3 separate regions of the Homo sapiens genome follow, and all the other regions are linked to region 2. Evidence: promoter capture Hi-C in human tissues and cell types (Jung and others, 2019). All regions are on one chromosome and are shown on one strand. The core of a region is centred on a gene start or on the middle of the fragment in contact, and the rest is flanking DNA. Distances in the headings are between cores, read along the strand shown.

Region 1 (4,025 bases), core at 409-2,908, 39 kb before region 2:
TTTTGGCAGAGTCTTTGGGACTTTCTAAGTATAGAATCATATGGTCAGCAACAAGAGATAGTTTCACTTCTTCTTTTCCTATTTGGATGCTTTTGATTTTTTTCTCTTCCGATTGCTCTGGCAAGGAATTCCAATACTATGTTGAGTAGGAGTGGTGAGAGTAGGCATCCTTGTCTTGTTCCACTTCTCAAGGGGAATGCTTCCAGCTTTTGCCCATTCAGCATGATGTCGGCTGTGCATTTGTCATAGATGGCTCTTATTATCTTGAGATATGTTCCTTTCATGGGTAGTTTGCTGAGGGTTTTTTTCAGTAAAGGATGTTAGGTTTTATCCAAGGCTTTTTCTGTATCTATTGAAATAATCATAATGCTTTTGTTTTTAATTCTGTTTATGTGGTAAATCACATTTGATTTGCATATGTTGAACCAGCCTTGTATCCCAGGAATGAAGACTAGTTGATTGTGGTGAATTAACTTTTTGATGTGCTGCTGGATTTGGTCTGCTAGCATTTCGTTAAGGATTTCTGTATCTATGTTCATCAGGGATATTGGCCTGCAGTCTTCTTTTTTTGCTGTGTCTCTGCCAGGTTTTGGTTTCAGGGTGATGTTGGCTTCATACAATGAGTTAGGAAGGAGTCCTTCCTCCTTGATTTTTTGGAATAGTTTCAGTAGAATTAGTACCAGCTCTTCTTTGTACGTCTAGCAGTATTTGTCCGTGAATCTGTCTGCTCTGGTGCTTTGTTCGGTTGGTAGGTCTTTTTTTTTATTATTACTGATTCAACTATGAAACTCAGTATTGGTCTGTTCAGGGTTTCAATTTCTTTCTAATTCAATCTTGGCAGGTTGTATGTTTCCAGGAATTTATCAATTTCCTCTAGATCTTCTAGTTTGTGAGCATAGAGGAGTTCATAGTAGTCTCTGAGAATCTTTTGTATTTCTGTAGGCTCAATTGTAATGTCGCCTTTGTCATTTCTGATTGTGCTGATTTGGATCTTTCTTTTTCTTTGTTAATCTAGCAAGCAGTCTATTGATTTTGTTTATCCTTTCAAAGGATCAACTTTTGATTTCATTGATTCTTTGTGTGAATTTTTGGGTCTCAATTTCATTCAGTTCTACTCTTTTTTTTTAGTTATTCCTCTTCTTCTGCTAGCCTTGGGGTTAGTTTGTTCTTGTTTTTCTAGCTCCTCAAGGTGTATGTTAGATCATTAATTTGGGGTCTTTCTAATTTTTTGAGGTAAGTGTTTAGTGCTATGAACTTTCCTCTTAAGACTGCTTTTGCTGCATCCCAGAGATTTGGGTATACCTGTTTTCATTTATTTCAAGGTATTTTTTATTTCTGCCTTAATTTGTTTACCCAAAAGTCACTCAGGAGCAAGCTGTTTAATTTCCATGTATTAGTGTGCTTTGAGAGATCTTCTTTGTATTGATTTCTGTTTTTATTCCACTGTGATCTGAGAGTATGGTTGGTATTATTTCCATTTTTAAAAAATGTATTGAGACTTGCTTTATGGCAGAGCATGTGGTCAACCTTGGAGAATGTTTCATGTATAGATGAGAAGAATATATATATTCTGTGGTTGATGGGTGGGGGTATTTTGTCAATATCTATTAGATTAGATAGGTCAAGTTTTGAATTTAAGTCCAGAATGTATTTGTTAGTTTTCTGCCTCAATGATTTGTCTAATGCTGTTAGTGGGGTGTTCAAGTTCCCCACTATTACTGTGTGGCTGTGTAAGTCTTTTTATAGTCTTTTTATATACTAGAAGTAGTTTTTTTTTTTTCCTAAATGAATCTGGGTGCTCCAATGTTGAGTACATATATATTTAGAATAGTTAAGTCTTCTTGTTGAGCCTTTATCATTATGTAATGACCTTTGTCCTTTTTGACCTCTGAATGCCTGGTGATCTGCCTGAGCATAGAGGGGAAAGAGCCCTGCTGCTCCAGGAAGGGTGGGAGGCTCAGGCTGCTGGTCCAGGCAAATGTGTGCTCTGAATGCCTGGAGTTCTGCCTGGCGGTGGAGTGGAGAGAGCCCTGCTGCTATCCTCTCAGGGGAGCAGGATAGGGTACCCAGCAATGGCACACACAGACTGGTTCCAGGTTACCGAGCTGGTCCTGGCTGCAAGCCTTGTTGCCGAGGAGAAGCCATAACTGTAGCAGCTCTCCTCCTGCCACAGGCCTGTGACAGGGAAGAACACAATTCCAGGGCCTAGTGGTGAGGCACTTTCCACAACTCTGGCCTGTGGAGGCCCCTATCTCACTCCAGAGCAAGCACTTCAGTCTCTGGCCTGAGACAAACATGTCTGCGTGGCCACACTGCCAGGATGCCAAAGAATGGCTGACTTTGCATGTGCCTAGATTAAAAATGGCATCCTCCTCTCAACACTGGGTCTGGGAAATTGACTGCAGCTTTTCCTGATGTCTTTCCCTCATAGCATCTCCAAGCCTCTCCCCAAGTTAGCTCCAGAGCTTGGGAGGAACAAAGTTTTCTTTCTCAGCCTGGGGTGCTTGGAGCCCCAGTGGAAGGGTGAGTTACAGAGGGAGGCTCTCTGCCTCTCTCACCTACTGGGGCTTCACTCACTTTTATCAGCTGGACACCATCATGGGGCCAGTGTTCTCCTCCCTGGGATCTGGAGTATCTTTCACAATTCCAGTGGATTCTGATTTTCCTTCTTGAATTAAAGCTCACAGTTGATCTTTATGTACTATCTTGCTGTTTCCAAGTGGCTGAGACATGCTAAAACCCTCTAATCAGCTGTCTTGGAAAAAAAAATTTCTAATTGTTATTTTCTTCCCTGATGGTTTATAATCCTTCCTTCACCCCTGTGCATATTTTAAACATACTTTGTAAATATTTCTGTCAGGTTATTCTACTTTTTTAAGCCTTGGCTTCCATTTCTTTCATCTGCTGAGTCTCAAACGTAGTTATTTGTTTTATGGTATGATTTACAATGTTTGACTATGACCTACTCATTAGAAGAGAGTTCTCTGTGGAAAAGTAGCCTATAGGATACTTTTTCTTTGTCTCAACTTGCATGAAAGAACTGGATTCCTTACAGAAGGAGCAGGTCTGAAAAGCAAACCAAACCAAAACAGCAACAAAAACGAATTGGATCCCTTTTTAGCTGATTTCCTGGCTTCAAAGTCCTTCCACATAGTCAGCATGATTTCAGACTCCCCATCTTGGCATGGCACATACTGGTTTTTTTTTATTTCTTGCAGGTGATATTTTCTCATTCATCATCCTGGGATACTAATAAACCTTCTTGTTGCTTAACTGGGCTGATGGGCAGAGTTCCCTTAGTCTCCATTTCAAAGTCAGCCCAACCCTTTATGACTCCCGGATTTATCTAAATAGCTGTTTTAGCTTTAATCCTACAGTCTGAAGCCTGTAATCTCCTTTCAGGGAGACAATTAGTAGAACCAACTCCAGTGTTTAAGGCCTGTATCTGATTGCAACAATTCTATGAGCAGTTTGGGCATAAGATTCTGCTTAGCACTCTGACTTGAAGTTTCCTTTTTAATTCTAATACTAGGGGGACTTTCTTTCTTGATTTCAAACTCAGCTTCATACCTAAAGAAGTTTTAGCCATATGTTATTCTATGTTTAGAGCAGAAGAGTTAAGGATTCATTCCCATCAGCTCATGTTATATCATGGTAAGTCTGAGAAAAGTTTCAAAAAATGTATTTACTTATCAAGAAAAGTATGGAGCATCTACAATGTTTAAGCACAAGCACACCTCATTTTATTGCATTTCACTTTATCGTGCTTCACAATGACTGTGGTTTTTACAAATTGAGTTTGTGGCAACTCTGCATCAAACAAGTCTATTGGCACCATTTTTCAACAACATGCTCACTTGGTGTCTCTGTCGCATTTTGGTGATTCTTGCAATTGATTTCAAATTTTATTATTATTATTATATCTGTTATGGTGATCTATGATCAGTGATTTTTTGATGTTACTTTTGTATTTGTTTTGGGGCACCTTGAACCGTGTCCATATAAGACAGTGAACTTAATAAATG
Region 2 (4,051 bases), core at 1,498-3,997:
TTTTAAAATTGTGGTAAATATACACAACATTTAGCATCTTAACCATTTTTAGGTGTACAGTTCGGTGGCATTAAGCACATTCACACTGTTGTGTAACCATCACCACCATTCATCTTCAGAAATTTTTCATCTTCCCAGACTGAAACTCTGTATCTATCACACAGTAACTACCCCTCAGTGCCTCACCCAGTCCCTGGCAACCACCATGCTACTTTCCATTGCAGCTTTCCTGTGATTAGGAACATAGGAACACCACGCAGCACGTCAGCACTATGCTTGGGGGCCATTTTTAAAAAGCAAAATCAATAAGAGGAGCAATAAAAAAAGAAGCACAAAATATGTGAAAACATGGCACTAAATAGACGGGAAAAAGGGAATTTGTTTATAGTATGAGAGCTGAAACAAAAAGGCGGAACCCTGCCTTGTTTGACCTCATCTGGGAACCTGTGCGTCAGATAGGACTCAAATTTTTTGCCGCTCTGTGAATGCCAGCGAATGACTGAAAAATGCTAGGAATATTGAGTTTCATAGATAAATTTTAGCAAGTAGGCAAATTTGTGAATACAGAAATCATGAATAATAAGAATTGTCTGTTAGCGGAAATGACAACCTTTGTTCACTTTTTTCCAGGTGATAAGAATAAAGAGCTGGAACATGTCTTGTAACCTGGCTGCCTTAGAAAATTTTACTTGCCTCACAGGCCTAGAAAGTAGGCTTTGTGACTGATAATTGGCAGCTATGACCTGAAGCAGTTCTAGTTCATGTGGAGCATAATTTTAAGCATAATCTCAAACCCTTCTGCATAAAACAAAGAGCAAGCACTCAAATGCCAGTTATCAATTACTTACTATATGACAGGTGCCATATTCAGCAATTTACATGCATTATTAAATTATATCCCCCCAAAACCCTATGAGGAAGCTAAAGTTTAGGGAAGTTAAGTATCTCATCCATTATCACATAGTTAGAAGTGGCAAAGTTGAGATTTGAACTCAGGTCTATCTGACTCCAGAGCCTGAGTTCTCAATTCAACTGCTATACAATTCTAAGCATATTAAAAAAAAAGTTTGACTTACTTGGAACTGTATAGATGCATGTGTTACAATGATCATAACATTTGAAAGATTTACACATTGAAAAATGAATTTACCAAACAAATAAAACCTTAGAAGCCAGATCTAATATTGTCCCATAACAAAGAGTATCTGAAATCCTCAGGGCATCTGGTTTGTGTCTGGTTTTCCTTAATCTTTAATGATGAGCAAATCCAATGCATTATGTAAGGCCATTTTTTTCTCAAGAGATGTAGATACCTCTTAAGAATTTGATGAAAATGCATTAACTTTTCAGGCTACTGAGTTGCATTTTAGTGCACCGAGGCAGTAAATTAGTGTACAGTGTGCAAAAATGGTAGTGACTTTAAAAATAAATATTTGATATGAGCCACTGTATTCTCTTGGAAAAAAAAAGTAATGGACTAAATCTCTTAGGAATCCTTAGCTTCCCAAAAAGGAGTAGGAAAAAGAAATCTCCTTTGGCCTAGAAATATCTTCTGTTTCTTGCTGGCTATGTTTGCTTAGCTCTTTAATAGTTCATTTGACTAGATCTTGTGGCTCCCAAAGCTAAGGTTGAACGTTTGATCCCTACAGAGGCCACTTAAATTTAGAGAACAAAAAGCTCTATTCTCTGCTCCCAGACTTTACCCCAAATCCCTGCCAGGTGTCTGCCCTCTGGTCAAAATGAGAAATTGGCAAAGGGGTGCAAACATATCGCAGTATTGGGAAACAACAAAAGGTCACCCCTTTATCATGATGCTCTTTCTCTTTTATGTGCTCATAATATTCTGATATAATTTATAGAGAATAGATACTGCACTTTTTACTCTCTGGATATTTACTGCTGGAAATCTGAGGCAAACTGTAATAATCTCTGCCATGCCAGTTATAAAATTCATTATCTTAGTCTATGTTCAGAGATTTTTCTACTAGCTGGCATTACCCTCTTGGTAATAAACAATGAAAAACACATCTTCTGAGTTATGTTAATCTGCATCTTTAGAATAGGAAATAATAGCACTCAGTCAAAAGTTCAGTATAATTTTCATATTAATAAAAGACATGAAACTATGTAAAAATAATTCCATGCACAATATGTTATAATAACAATGACTTCCAATATTTACTAAGAATTTAGTCAGAAAACAAGTTTCTCAAATTATAGATGAAAATTCTCAACTAGTATCATAATCTTAACTTTTAATTCAGGTCTTCCTAATTTTTATTTTCCTAATTACTTGGCACTAAAAATAATTTAATACAACAAATAAAAATATTTTCTACTTCAAATACTTGCCTAAACAATATAAAATCATTTTAGTTTTTGAGGAAGTAATATTTCATATTTTAAATATGTAGTATAAATTAAAATTGACTTATTTAAATTACAATAAGAGTTGTGTGAGGATTAGTAAGATTTAAGTACAGTTTATATTATTGCCAACATAGACTTTTGTTTTTCAAATGTCACAAATATCTTTTATTATTTGTAGATTTATTTCTTTTATGAAGTAGTCAAATGAATCAGCTCACCCTTGACTGTAACAAAATACTGCTTGGTGACTTGGGACAGACAGGGTTTTAACCTCTGACAGCGAGATTCATTGTGGAGCAAGAGCCAATCATAGATCCTGACGACACTTGTCTCATCTAAGTTGGAATATAAAAAGCCACTTGGAATACAGTATAAAAGATTCACTGGTGTGGCAAGTTGTCTCTCAGACTGTACATGCATTAAAATTTTGCTTGGCATTACTCAAAAGCAAAAGAAAAGTAAAAGGAAGAAACAAGAACAAGAAAAAAGATTATATTGATTTTAAAATCATGCAAAAACTGCAACTCTGTGTTTATATTTACCTGTTTATGCTGATTGTTGCTGGTCCAGTGGATCTAAATGAGAACAGTGAGCAAAAAGAAAATGTGGAAAAAGAGGGGCTGTGTAATGCATGTACTTGGAGACAAAACACTAAATCTTCAAGAATAGAAGCCATTAAGATACAAATCCTCAGTAAACTTCGTCTGGAAACAGCTCCTAACATCAGCAAAGATGTTATAAGACAACTTTTACCCAAAGCTCCTCCACTCCGGGAACTGATTGATCAGTATGATGTCCAGAGGGATGACAGCAGCGATGGCTCTTTGGAAGATGACGATTATCACGCTACAACGGAAACAATCATTACCATGCCTACAGAGTGTAAGTAGTCCTATTAGTGTATATCAACAGTTCTGCTGACTGTTGTTCTAGTGTTTATGAGAAACAGATCTATTTTCAGGCTCTTTTAAACAAGCTGTTGGCCTGTATGTAAGTAGAAAGGAAAAGAGTTTCTCTTTTTCAAGATTGCATGAGAATATATTAATGAGACAAAAATCTGCTGCATTATTTGTTTTCTTATAGAGACAAAAAACTAAAAAATAAAGTACTTGCATAGCATTAATTTAATAAGGCAAATATAGATAGCATGCTTATGCTTTCACAATAATACCACCAAGGCAAGGACTGGGAGATACTACAAGCAGTGTTTAAAACTTACATTAGATTTTAGAATTGTATTTAGTTGTGTAAAATAAGTTTTTTTCACTAATAACAGAAAAAAAAAAAGAAACTTGCTGGATGTTTAAGCTTACTTGAGCACTGCTGAAAACCTCAAGTGATTTCTGTTATTTGAAACTCTCTCAGTAATTTTTTTGTTCTTCACAGTTAAAAATTTAATTTTGAGAGCTATTACACTGAAGAATATGCAAAAATTAAATATCTTAATGTGTTAGTAAGAACAATAATGAAGTAAACATAGCATAATAATCATCATGAACTAAATATTAGAAAATGCCTAAGAAATAAACATTTTAATTGGGTAGGTTATGGCTCACAAAGTCCTCCTTGTACCTTGACCATAGTACTATTATTGAGAGTACCCAGTTTGTGTACTTCCAAGCAGGCACAGTGCTTAATAACCTTCTAAAATATTTTATTCTTCCTGAGAGGGAGGGCTTTT
Region 3 (4,376 bases), core at 1,446-3,945, 38 kb after region 2:
AATCAAACACCACTGATGACAGACATTTATATCAGTTTCACATAACTGTTCCTAATTATAAATCTAGATATACATTCCAGGATTATCTACAAGTATGTACTCCTATTAATACTTATTGCACTTACATATGCACATTGAAAGGAGATACACCCTTTCACCTTTTATGTACTACTCAGAAATATTAGAGTATCACCAGCTGCCATAAAGGTCACACTGAATTTTGGGTGCTAACTGTGGCAGACTTATATGTACATGATTTAATTTTAAAATAAGAATGCCACTTTAAATCTTCATTCTAATAATTCCTCCCACTTAAATGGAAACCAAAAGTCTACTAATAGGCCATATTTACACATACTCCTCCATCTATGCAAAATGTGATTGGTATATACAGCATGTGAAACTTGATAGAGAAATTAGCTAGTTGAGACCTCCAGTCAAGTTTGATCTCTAGTACATAGCCACCACATGGTTCCACTGACTCTATTAAGAGTAGAGCATTGTGCATGCATGTCCCAGGCTTGGATTTGGAACATAATGTGGCATGTGAGGTGAGGGCAAGGGTTGGGGGCAAGAAATATTACTCTTTTAACAAATGGTGTTGGGTATAAAGTTAATGCTAAGGTACATAATCTTTCCAAGGGCCAATTTAAGAACTTGTATTTTAGTACTTGCAATAAAGCTGCTATGAAATTCTAATCATGGAATTTTGGACATGGATTAGACTGGAGTTTATAATTGAAGTATGGATTTGTTAGGTAAATTACTCTGTTTATGGAATAATATAATTTATCCTACTTTTTAAAACTTAAGTACTTTAATACAACAGTATGCCAGTGTGCAAGAACTGGTTTTATTAATCTAGGTATTCTGTGAAATTCTTATTTAGTATACCAAATGCTCCAAATATTCATTTAATTCAATAATCTTTACTAAGCACCTACTATGTACAACAGTATGCCAGTGTGCCCAATACAGTCCATTGACACTCAGCTCCTACATACTCACATCTCTATATTCTCCCTAGAACTACTGGGAGTAGTAACTTGAAAATGATGTTTCTCAGACTTCATTGCCAACTGATTTCTGGTAGATTCTGTCATTTGGAGGTACTCACATCAGATTAGAAAGAAGAAAGAAGATAGGAGCCATTCTTTTTTGTTTACTTTTGGTAGCTGCAAAGCAGAAGTGCTGATTTCCAGCTCTTATAAGGACAATAGGAGTTTTGGTTCCAGGGCTCTGGTTAATACATTTCCTATATGCTTCTCCCACCCTTCTAACATTTTTATAACCATATCATTATATTAAAACTTTCTGTGTTAAAATATGTAACATCGTTTCTGTTTTCCTAACCAAGCCCCTAACTGATAAAGTTACATTGTGGGGATGCAAAGATTTCATAGTCAAGTGGAGTAGGAGATGCCAAATTTTCTCTGTAAAGAGCTATTTGACAAATCTTTTAGGTTTTGTAGGCCACATACTATCTCTGTCACATAAAGCTGGGGGGCAGATTGGTGGAGTGAGCTGATTTGGCCTGTGGACATAGCCCACATGCTGTAGTTTACCCATCCCTGGAGTAGAAGAAACAAGCAACTACACAAATCACTGCAATGCAATGTAGTATTATAGAAAAAATAATATCTAAGTTGGCCTGAAGTAGTCATGTTTAATGACAAATGAGCTGAAGATGTTTGTATTTTTTTAAAATGAGCAGATGTTCAGCAGTTTAACGAGGAATTTCAGAAACAAAAGAATGCTCAAAGTCATGAAGACATGAGAAGTTAGTGGGAGTGACTGTCTTGCTTGGGGTAAATATAAATGATTGAGAACTACGATATGAATAAATCTTAAATCCTTTATGCTAAGTGAAAGAGATTTAAAAGGCTATATACTGTACAGCTCCATTTATTTGACATTCTGTTAAAGGTAAAGCTATAGGGACTAAACACAGACCAGAATTCACCAGTGCTTGGGGATAAAGATTGGGCAAAGAGAGCCTCAGATTATCATGAAGATCTGACAGAGTTTCAGTTATATCGATGGCATCTCCACAGCAAATACTGCCCATTAGCAAAGTCTGGTATTGCGCAGAAATGGCCAGGACTTTGTGTCTGCACCATGCTCAGTCATTGGCTGTGGCTTCCCAAGAAAAGCATGGGCTCAGCTCTAAAGCTTAGACTACAAAGAGCTTTATTACAAAGGGATGGCATGAGGTGCTTTTTTAGGATGATGAAACTTTTCTGTATCTCAATTACTGTTGTGGTTACATTACTATATGTAATTGTCAAAATTTATAGAAATCTACCCCAAGATGAGTAAATTTAATTTATCATATGTGAATGTTCTCAAACTGCATGAAAATATTCAGTTCATTGTGCACACATGATGTGGGGGGATGGAGAATGGGCAGAGGAGATGAGGATCTGAAGGCAACCAGAGACAGATCCTGAAACACCTTGTATGCTCTGCTAAAAATTTTTGAAACTTATCCTGTAACAAATTGTGTATAATTCAAAGAACTGAAACTTAAAAATAGTCCAACTACTTTTAGAAAGAACACCCTGTATTAGCAAACAGCATTAATGAAAATGAGGCAAGACTAGAAGCAGGGACATTAAGTATGAGGTTGCTGGCCTGAATGGACATGTGGGAGATAAAACTGGTAAATCTTAGTGATCAATGTGATATGAAAGCTAAAATGCAAAGAGGTGTCTAAAAACAATATACCTCCTCCTTGAACAGCTAGATAGACAGTGATGTCAAGAATTGAGATTGAAAATGCTTTAAAAGGAGCAGGTTTCATTCTAAGAAAATCAATTCTATTTTGAGATGTTGAATAAGCAGTGAATACAGATCAACTAGCATTAGACAGCTATTTAAAGTGATTATAAATATATTTAGAGATTTTCCTTCACAAGGAGGCAAAAGACACATAGATATGGCACATCAATAGAATAGGTTAGAAACAATGAAGGACTGAAATATTAGGTGTATATTGGATTAGAACCAAATATTTTAGAATATATAGGACTCCTCAGGCTGCCTTGGAGGCTTACAGTTTACCCTAGAATCAGCCAGAGTGAATTCAAGTACCCAATCAGGGTTTCTCCAGCCTAGACTGTGTCCTAGGTCCTGAACAAATGATATATGTGTGCTGGTCTTCAATGACATAATTTTGAACATACACTTTCTCTTAGGACATGCAGCCTAGATATCCTCAGCACAGTTTAGCATTGTATAGGATTTGTGCCCATTCTACAGTTGCAATGAGTATATATAAATATGACTTTACTTGTCTATTCCCTTGTATAGAGTGAAATGAACCGGGAATTCTTGAAAAATGAAAAAATATATATGTATATATATATATATACACACACATATATATGTGTGTATAGATATACACACACACATATATATATATACACACACACACATATATATATATATACTGGTTCTGCAAATCTTACCTTGATGATTTCTCACTCAAAAGAGCTTTTAAGATTCCAAGTGCATTCCAGCCAAACTGCTTGATCTAGACTCACATCCCTAGGAAGACACATTTACCAGGACGCTGTCCAGCGACAATGACTCCAGCATGACCACCATGGTGTCAGAATGCTGCCTTCCCATCTCATTACTTCTCCACATGTCATTTGCATTTGCATAACATAAATACATTTACTATTGCATCTACTGCCCCCTGGAGGATATGTTGAACTTTATAAGGCAGCAATAGGTATACGTTTATAGGTACAAAAAAATTACTATAAGGAAAAATTGATATTTTTCCCCTTACTTCGATGAAATTTTAACAGTCTTTCACTAAACATCTAAAAGACGTCATTGCAATTCAATTGGAAAATGTTACAATGTAACTAATATAGCTTTACTTCAAACTACTTGAACATAAATCAGAAAAAGTATATATATGTATATATATATATATATATATATACACACACACATTACCTACAGAATAGCAAATATGATATTTTGAGTCTCTGTTAATGCTCCAGAAGATGTCAAAGCACTTTTTATTTTCCTTAAATTTCTGGCAAGATAATCTTAAAACTAAAGAGATTATTCGATTACAAGAAAGAATGTAAATTTTAAAAATTCGACTTTGTAAAATAAAAAAAGAACACTGGAATAAAAACAGAAAATATTTTTCCCCAAATTATTAATCTCCCAACTATTTCTCAAGATATTCCACCAAAATATCTCTTAGAGTGAACATTAGCACAAGGATCATTCTATAGTCATAAAATTTGTCAAAGCTTCAGATTTTATTTTAAAATATGTAAATTTTGTTTTACACCATAATATGCTTTTATTTATTTTAGTGTAAAAGTTATGCTATGTTACTACACTAT

What was found. Contacts are between HindIII fragments. The study calls those that stand out against the background at their distance.
Region 1: a fragment that was not itself captured here is called in contact with the fragment with the promoter of MSTN in region 2 in 1 of the 25 tissues and cell types used here (psoas muscle).
Region 3: a contact is called between a fragment that was not itself captured here and the fragment with the promoter of MSTN in region 2, in 1 of the 25 tissues and cell types used here (hippocampus).

Annotation. Positions count from the first base shown.
Region 1 is chr2:190,099,433-190,103,457 of GRCh38, reverse strand. It overlaps a transcript of AKAP19 not described here. Among named protein-coding and RNA genes, the nearest start is that of MSTN, 39 kb to the right of the region's middle. The HindIII fragment of the contact is 6,604 bases long and covers 1-4,025 here.
Region 2 is chr2:190,061,425-190,065,475 of GRCh38, reverse strand. It overlaps MSTN (myostatin), which reads left to right and starts at 2,747. Exons shown (of 3, transcript NM_005259.3): 1 at 2,747-3,252. The coding sequence starts at 2,880. It also overlaps a transcript of AKAP19 not described here. The HindIII fragment of the contact is 12,121 bases long and covers 1-4,051 here.
Region 3 is chr2:190,023,378-190,027,753 of GRCh38, reverse strand. It overlaps a transcript of AKAP19 not described here. Among named protein-coding and RNA genes, the nearest start is that of MSTN, 37 kb to the left of the region's middle. The HindIII fragment of the contact is 5,055 bases long and covers 168-4,376 here.